2 separate regions of the Homo sapiens genome follow, and region 1 is linked to region 2. Evidence: promoter capture Hi-C in human tissues and cell types (Jung and others, 2019). All regions are on one chromosome and are shown on one strand. Each heading gives the region's core, a stretch centred on a gene start or on the middle of the fragment in contact. The rest is flanking DNA. Distances are from core to core; before and after follow the strand shown. Region 1 overlaps MAPK6 (mitogen-activated protein kinase 6). Region 2 holds the start of TMOD2 (tropomodulin 2).

Region 1 (4,619 bases), core at 924-3,423, 270 kb before region 2:
AATTTTTTGTATTTTAGTAAAGACGGGTTTTCATCATGTTGGCCAGGCTAGTCTAGAACTCCTGACTTTGTGATCCGCCTGCCTCGGCCTCCCAAAGTGCTGAGATTACAGGCATGAGCCATCGCGCCCAGCCATGACAGGCATTTTCTAAATGACAAATTATTTCTCTCATCTCAAACTACAGTCTTGTAAATGTCATTTTACAAACAAGAGCACTGATGCTCTTTACACACACAGTAAATGCCAAGATTTGGACATAGGCCTGTGACTATAGGGTTAGAATCTTCCCACTGCATAAGGTGGGAGGTTAAGGCCAGGCACGGTGGCTCACGCCTGTAATCCCTGCACTTTGGGAGGCCGAGACGGGTGGATCACTTGAGGTCAGGAGTTCAAGACCAGCCTGGCCAACATGGTTGAAACCCCATCTCTACTAAAAACATAAAATTAGCTGGGCGTGGTGGTGCATGCCTGTAATCCCAGCTACTTGGGAGGCTGCAGCAGGAGAATCACTTGAACCCAGGAGGCGGAGGCTGCAGTGAGCGAAGATCACACCATTGCACTCCAACCTGAACAATAAGAGCAAAACTCCGTCTCAAAACAACGACAACAACAAAACAAAAAAAGGTAGGAGGTTAAGAACCACTGTTTCGGTACCTGGAATTAACATAAACAGCAGATCAATCTGGAAGTAATCAACAAGTGCCAACAAGCCTAGAGGGACTAGGCCAGAGGCAAAAACTATCCTGCCAATGCTTTCCACAGGATAACTAAGGAAAACTTAATAGCTACTTTTTAAAAATTCAAGTGAAAATACCTGTTAAGATGGAAAGAAACTGACTTGCTTACAACTTAGATTATCTACTTTATTGAACACAGATGTATCAATTAGAAAATCAGCACTGTTTTATAATACATACTGAAATAATATCTGGGCATATTAGAAAAACTAAGTCAACATACTCTCTCTCCAATTTGTACATTAAGAAAGGACAATTATTAAACTGAGTCTAACCAGTTATTAAATTACAGCTTAGATTTTAGAGTGGGCAAAGATCATCTAGATCTGTGCTGTCCATGTAACCACCAGCTACATCCAACTATTTTTATTTTTTTTTGAGACGTAGTCTTGCTCTGTCACCCAGACTGGAGTGCAGTGGCGCTCACTGCAAGCTCCGCCTCCTGGGTTCATGCCATTCTCCTGCCTCAGCCTCCCAAGCAGCTGGGACTACAGGCGCCCGCCACCCGGCTAATTTTTTGTATTTTTAGTAGAGACAGGGTTTCACCATGTTAGCTAGGATGGTCTCGATCTCCTGACCTCGTGATCCGCCCGCCTCAGCCTCCCAAAGTGCTGGCATTACAGGCGTGAGCCACGGCGCCCAGCCCCAACTATTTAAAGGAATTAAAATTAAATAAAAAATTCAATTCCTCAAGTGCACTACTTGCTCGTCAAGTATTCAACAGTCACACATGGCCAATGGCTACCTCACTGGATAGCACAGAACACTTCTATCATCATAGAAAGTTCAACTGGGCAGTGATTAGCTTCCAAATTTTCCATTTGACTTTTTTCAGAAGGGCCAGTGGAAAGAGCAACTCAGAAGACTAACGAGCTGAGCAACCATGTATGCATCATTTTAATTTTTATTTATTTACGTATTTTTTGAGACAGGGTCTCTTGCTGTTGCCCAGGCTGGAACGCTGCGGTGCGATCACGGCTCACTGCAGCCTCAACCTCCTGGGCTCAAGCAATCCTCTCATCTCAGCCTCATAAGTAGCTGGGACTAAAGGTGTGCACCACTACAACAGGCTAATTTTATTTTATTTTGTAGAGACAGGGTCTCACTATGTTGCCCAGGTGTATGCATCGTTTAGCAGTGCTTCTCAAACTGAATGCGCACTGAATGACTTGAAAATCTTGTTAAAATGCAGGTTCTTCCCAGCACGTTAGGAGGCCAGGAGTTTGAGACGAGCATGGGCAACACAGTGAGACTCCAATTCTTAAAAAAAAAAAAAAAAAAAAAAAAGGCAGTGTATGATGGCACATGCCTGTAGTCCCAGCTACTGAGGTGAGAGGATTACTTGAGTCCAGGAGTTCCAGGTGGCAGTGCGTTATGATCACACCACTACACTCCAATCCAAACTGGGCAACAGGGCAAGATTGTGCCTCTTATTTACAAAAAAAGAAGGCCGGGCGCGGTGGCTCATACCTGTAATCCCAGCACTTTGGGAGTGCTGGGCGGGCGGGCGGATCCGAGGCGGGCGGATCACAAGGTCAGGAAATCGAGACCATCCTGGCTAACACGGTGAAACCCCGTCTCTACTAAAAACACAAAAAATTAGCCAGGCGCGGTGGCAGCAGCTGTAGTCCCAGCTACTCAGGAGGCTGAGGCAAGAGAATGGCGTGAACCCAGGAGGCGGAGCTTGCAGTGAGCCAAGATCGTGCCACTGCACTCTAGCCTGGGTGACAGAGTGAGACTCCGTCTCCAAAAAAAAAAAAAAAGAAAAAGAAAAAGTAGATTCTAAGATTCTAATTCAGTAGGACCGTAGGACTGAGATGAAGTCAAGATTCTAACGTCTATCAAGTTCCCAGGTGATGCTAATACTGTTGGTCCAGAAATCACACTTTCAGTACCAAGATCTTAGATCTCTTCAGGCCTTGGTTTCCTTAGCTGTCAAACGATGTACATGAATGAAGCAAGATAATGCCCATGACCCCTCCAAAACACTAATATTTTAAAGTTTTATGATTGTACAGAATTAAATGCATACAGATTTGCACTTTCTGCAGAGGCAGACTTTTCTGAGGTAAATGCTAGGATTCTAAAAAACAAGTTTTATGATACCATTTTTTTCTGTGAAAAAAATACCAAATTTAACGAAAATCAATGGGAAATTGTATTTGCTATACAAACATTCAATCTCTGAACAATTTTTTAGAAATGGACTTAGAAGACTGACATGTATAAAAGACAAAACTTTTAGAACTCTATTGGCTGGGCGCGGTGGCTCATGCCCGTAATCCCAGCACTTTGGGAGGCCCAGGCAGGCGGATCACAAGGTCAGGAGATGAGACCATCCTGGCCAACATAATGAAACCCTGTCTGTACTAAAAAAAATACAAAAATTAGCTGGTCATGGTGGTGCGCACCTGTAGTCCCAGCTACTCGGGAGGCTGAAGCTGAAGAATCGCTTGAACCTAGGAGGTGGAGGTTGCAGTGAGCCGAGATGGCGCGACTGCGCTCCAGCCTGGCAACAGAGGGAGACAGCGTCTCAAAAACAAAAAACAAACAAACAAAAAAACTCTTAGAGAGACACACATTATTTTCCAAATACGCAGTTCATGGAGGTGAAAAAACCAATCAATGCTGGACTAGGCCCAAATCACTGTCACCTTAAAAGCATCAGCTTCACATGAAAGCAACCCCTGGAAAATGCCATTAACTACAGTAACATTGGAGTTGTTTTTGTGAAGTCTCAGTCAAGGCTCTCAGCAATAAAAATGAGCAAAATTCCCACACCACTGGCAGGTTGTAGTGTAATGTTCAACAGCCCACAAAACAGGCTGAAGGAACTAATGAAGGCAGCCAACAATGCCACACAGAATTTACTTCTGAGGCATCTTCTTTCCATTTTAACAGGGGACCTAGAGTAACACAAGGTTCAAATGTAACAAAGAACTGGATAGCAGTGGTAAGAAGGCTCAGCATTTCATAAAGCAGTACCTTGGAGACAGGAAGCAGGCTAAGATATCCAGTTATTTTGTTTGTTTTTCGGTTTTTTTTTTTTTTTTTTTTTTGAGACGGAGTCTCGCTCTGTCACCCAGGCTGGAGTGCACTGGCACAATCTCGGCTCACTGCAACCTCTGCCTCCCGGGTTCAAGCGATTCTCCTGCCTCAGCCTCCTGAGTAGCTGGGATTACAGGCACGTGCCACCACACCCAGCTAATTTTTGTATTTTATTAGAGACGGGGTTTCACCATGTTGGCCAGGATGGTCTCGATTTCCTGACCTCGTGATCTGCCTCCTCAGCCTCCCAAAGTGCTGGGATTACAAGCGTTAGCCACTGCCCCCGGCCTCAGTTTGTTTTTAAACTCTGAATTATGCACTACAGCTAATTACCTATATTTGAAAACAATGCCGAAAATACGTTAAACCTCTAAGTAATGTGATGCTCTGAAAATTTTCAATACTTTTATATTTGTATTTTTATGTTTCCTCTAGTAGGAAATTTTTTTTAAGTTTGAATTAAACTTTGTAAAAAAAAAACCTCTAGGTATAAATCATGCAATACTCTTCCAAAATAGTTCCAAAAATTTAATTCACATTAACAATACATTTTATGGGCTGGGAGCAGGGGCTCACACCTGTAATCCCAACACTCTGGAAGGCTGAGGCAGGCAGATTGCTTGAGCCCAGGAGTTCAAGAACAGCCTGGGCAACACTGTGAACATTCATCTCTACAAAAAATACGAAAAACTAGCCAGGCATGGTCGCACACAGCTGTAGTCCCAGCTCCTCCGGAGGCTGAGGCAGGAAGATCACCTGAGCCCGGGAAGTAGAGGTTGCAGTGAACAGTGATCGCACCACTACACTCCAGCCAGGGTGACAGAGCAAGACCCT
Region 2 (4,564 bases), core at 13-2,512:
ACTGAAGAGAGTCGATCGAGAAAATCAGTTTTATCTTTAAAAAAAAATCAGATTGCTGAAGCTCTGAAAAATCTTTCCTCCTCACTAGGGTAGAGGCGCTTGTTGTCACAATTAGGCTTTTTGTAGTGCTGTTAAACAGAAACACTCTCATCTTTTCAGTTCCCTGAGAGGGGAGAATCTTGGAAGAACAGAGGTTTACAAATCATTTAGCCCAAACGCCCCTTTACATGCAGAGGCCCAGAGAGGTGGAGGGACTTGCCCAGGTCCCTCAGCTCCTGAATGGTCAAGCTAAGAGGAGAACCTGGTTTTTAAAACACCTCCCCCGATCTTCTTTTCATTCCCGTCCTAAATGCCTCGTGATTCAGATATGTAATGGGCACAGACGAAGCTGCAGTAAGCACGGCCTCCTTCACTGCTAATTTGCATTGTGACGGCATCACCTTCCTACCTCTGAATACTCTAAAAATTCCCATTAGAAGCCTTTTATTACTGTTTTAAAAATCCACCTTCATTTCCGCAGGTCAACAGGGAACATTTAGGAAGCCTCAAGGGAGCACATACTACAATTACTTTAACCAGAAAAGTAATAACAATAATAATAAGGTTCTCGAGGATCCGCACGAGGCCGCTTACTGGGAGGCTGAAACGCCCTGCGAGTGACAGCTCCAGCGATCTCAGGAAAGACGCCGGCCAGTCCACCCCTCCCCATCGCCTGCTGAACGAGGCAGGGAGATGCATACCGCTCCAGGAGCTCACCAAACATGCACAGGAAGGGGAAAAGTGGGGGAACAAAGCCCGGAGTGGAAGAACACAGCCCCGCAGCCCGGGAGGACAGGAGACCGCGCCCTCCCCGCTGCGGCCCAGCGGGCTGCAGAGGCTGCGGCACCGCAGTGCGGGGCGCGGGACTCACACCCCGGCGGGCGCCTCCCGCCCGGGCGCAGCGCCTGGTCTCCCGGCGCAGCCGACCGGGCCGGGAGGCGAGAGGCGAGAGGCGGCCCGGCTCTGCACGCCCGCCCGGCCGACCGCCCATGTCGCGGAGCATCCTCCCGCGGGCAGGGAGGGCACGGCGGCCACCGCGCTGCGGGCCCGGGGGCTGCAGACACCGGCTGTCCAGAACAGGCCCCACCCGCCCCCCGGGGCGCTCACCCGTCCGTGCGCTCATCCCGGAGCCGGCTGTGCTGGCCGTCAGTCCGTCAGCCCCGGTGGAGCGGGGCCGGGAGAACAGGGGCGGCGCCGTGGCCGGGGCGAGCGCGGCGATCAACAGGCGGCTCCCGGCCGGGCGCGGCGCCGGGGCGCGCGGCTGCAGCGGAGCAGGCTGGGAAGCGTAGTTCCCGGCTGAGCCTCGCCGCGGCCCCGCAGTCCCCCAGCCCCGCCCTTCCCCGACAGGTGTCCTCTCCCGGAATCGGGGTCTGAACCCCGCCACAGCTCTGCAGGGGAGGAAGCACCTGGGTCGGGGAGAAGCCTGGGCAGGCTCTTTGGAGACGCTCGGGGCTCCGGAGAGCGTGGATGGCAAAGGCTTTCAAGCCTGTGATGAGCATTCCTGTGAGCGAGCATCCTGACACGGAAGCCGCGTTGAGAGCGGTCTCAGGTACAGACCCCGCCCGCCCCAGGTTTTCCTGGCTGGGCGTGGGCGTGGGAGGAGAGAGTAGTTGGGTTGGCAGCCTAGGGAGGGAAGGAGGTAAGCGAGGTGGAAGTTAGCAAGGCTCTAGGGTGATGGCGTGAGGGGCTGGAGAGCCCAAGCGCAGTGGCGGCTTCACTGAGGTGAGACCGGACAACTTAGCCTGTCTGAGCCTTCGCGTCCTCATCTGTAAAACAGGCTTCAAGCTTGAAAAAGTGTTGTGAGGATTAAGCGACCCATAGCACTTAGGATCTGGCACTTAGTGCATACTCAGTGAAAGTTCCTTCCTTGGGGTTTCCGAGGGAGTTCTTGGGCCGGGAAAGTCCTATATGTCGTGCTAACCTAAAGATAGTTGGACCTCGTTGGGCTGGGTAAATGTTAAAATCCACTGGGTTTGTTAGTCGTTGAGCCCGTTCACTTCATCCCTGAATATACCCTGAGATGTTCTGTCTGCCAGGTTCTTGAGAGCTCCAAAGATAGAGAAAATAAAGTCAAGTTTCTGAAGCATGACAGCAGAGTGGGGTGACATAGGACAAAGACCAACATTATGAAAATACATGGCATCTAGATTTAACTTCCAGAGGCCTTTTCTAATTAGATGTGATATCTCTCTCCTTCTTGAACTTTTGCAGCATATTTTGAGCATAACCTTTGCTTATGGGACTTATCTTGGCAGTCTAAGGTTCGTTGAGTTTTGCAAGTTGCTGCTATGCAGTGTTTCACATGATGGTGGGATTTGCATTCACAGATGTAGTGGAGGAAAATGAACCAAAGGGATGGATGCAGCATGGCTGGTGTAATCTCTATATGAAATTTTAGGCAAAATGTGAAAAGAGGTGAAACAGCTTTATAGTCTGTCTGGCACGAGGTGTGCAGTAATCGTGTGGCCAAAAAAACGTGCTGCAGAGGAAATTCCACATCTGAAAATGATAACACTGGTTTGCATTTATGAAAATACTTTCCTATTTGTGTTCTCATTTGATTTTTACAAGAACCCTTGTGAGACAGGCAGAGTGAAGGTATTTTTCCCCAATGATAGTTAATAAGAGGCACAGAGAGGTGATGTGACTTATTCAAGGTCATAGGGGTGTTCAGTAAGCCTGTCTTCTCTCCTTCCACTGTGGGCACCCCCAGCACTGTCTCCCTTTTGCACATTGCAAAATAGGGCCATACCTTCCCCAGCAGATGGGTTGAACCAGAAAGTAAAGTTAATCCTCTAAAACTCTGGGAACTAGCATGATGAACACTGGCACGCAGTGGCTGCTGACTGAGAGACCAGTGTTGTTTCTATGATCAATTGTGGTAATGGACTATATCTTGGGCCTCCTGTCAGAATGACAAATCTGAGCCAGAAAGAGTTAAATGAAATGGGGGTGTGACCAAATTACTTTAAGTCATGTTCCCAAGTTTTCCTGTACATTTGTTATTCCGAATGTCCTGTGTAACCGACAGGATGCCTTTGACTTTTTTATGTTGTACATTTGTTACAGTCATAGCCTTCTGTTAAATAAGAACAGGGCTGCTTACGGATCGAGCCAGCAGTTTTCCCAGAGAAAGCTGATAGTAGGCATATGCTGAAAATAATAAAGCAATTTCATTCATATTGGAAGAAAGAGTAGCAAAGGTGCTCAGTAGTGTACAGTATTTCTCTTTGGTTTCCCGTGGTTCTGCACGAGGAAAATGGCTGCATGTGATAAAACGAATAGAGTATTCCTTCAGAAACTAGCCATGAAAGGAAGCAGACAGGGGAATGATTTAAGTTAAAGTCATGTTCGGCAGTCGAAGCAGAGATACAAGAGCTATCCTACAGCCCCAGAGCCATGCTCCAGGAGGATGCTGACACCAAAATAAAGTGAGTTGTGAAAAGAAACTTCTGATCAGTCTCTGTCTGTATGATGAGTGTTGGAAGCTGGAAGGTGTTAAAGGATGAGTGAGGGAAGTAGAACATTTAACCTAATGTTAAAACTTAATGGAAAGATATTACCAGTTCCAGTCTGTTTAGCTCTTTAAATCTATTGCCTATGTCTTATCTTAAGGAAGAAAGGATGTCAATATGCCTATGACTTATCAGTTGAAACCCATGATCATTTCTGGACCATATCTTGTAAGTTTAACTTTTCTACTTGCTTTTTAGAAGATGAAAATGTAAAATTGAAACAGAACTCCTGGAGCTGGAAGGGACCTTACATATCATTTTGTGTAGCCATTTCTTCCTGTAAATGAGGAAGCTGATATATTGACTGTAATTGTCAAATGGCAGAAAGGAAAAAAGTTCAACGTGGCAGTTATAATGAAGTATTTTAATTATTCACAGTGGAATATGTAGCACACCTCATTAGGAACAGGTAGTAGACACTGTTGGTTGTCTATTAAACATTCAGTCCACCCTCTTCTTCTTTATAGAAGCCTATATGGGTGTTTACACATTAGGAAAGGTGACCCTATTAGCCTCTGAGAGGTACACTCTCAAATCTATCATAGACAAGAGGAATAGAATCCTCTTAACTGGCCTGTAAGAGTTTAGGAGTGGACATGTGACCCAGTTCTGGCCATTGTAAAGAGATACGATGAATCTGGGTCGGCCATATTGTTGTTGAGTCAGTCATCAACCAGCCCCAGTGCTGCCCTTCTTCTGGATTTCTTGTTATATGAGATAATAAATAACCTTATTGTTGAGTCAATTTGAGATGGAGTTTTCTGTTACTTGAAGCTGAAAGCATCCTAAGTGTTAAAGATGAAATGTGAAAGTACATTCTTTGGATGGACTGAAAGACTGCTTCCTAGAGTTGATTAAAAACAACCACCACAAACCACAGGCAATGTGATGGGATATTATCATATAACAGATAACAACATGGGTTTTAACATCAGAGAGTTTGAACCCAGATATTTACTGGCACAATGACTATGGCCAAGTTTCTGTAACCTCCCTTAAGCCTCATTTTC

What was found. Contacts are between HindIII fragments. The study calls those that stand out against the background at their distance.
Region 1: a contact is called between a fragment that was not itself captured here and the fragment with the promoter of TMOD2 in region 2, in 2 of the 25 tissues and cell types used here (dorsolateral prefrontal cortex and psoas muscle).

The regions. Positions count from the first base shown.
Region 1 is chr15:52,022,284-52,026,902 of GRCh38, reverse strand. All of the region lies in intron 1 of MAPK6 (mitogen-activated protein kinase 6), which reads right to left. Among named protein-coding and RNA genes, the nearest start is that of MAPK6, 5.4 kb to the right of the region's middle. RefSeq lists an enhancer at 1,399-1,979. The HindIII fragment of the contact is 8,453 bases long and covers 1-4,619 here.
Region 2 is chr15:51,748,295-51,752,858 of GRCh38, reverse strand. It overlaps TMOD2 (tropomodulin 2), which reads right to left and starts at 1,262. Exons shown (of 10, transcript NM_014548.4): 1 at 1,147-1,262. It also overlaps a transcript of LYSMD2 not described here. RefSeq lists silencers at 849-908, 939-1,048, 1,099-1,528 and an enhancer at 1,639-1,708. The HindIII fragment of the contact is 8,938 bases long and covers 1-3,511 here.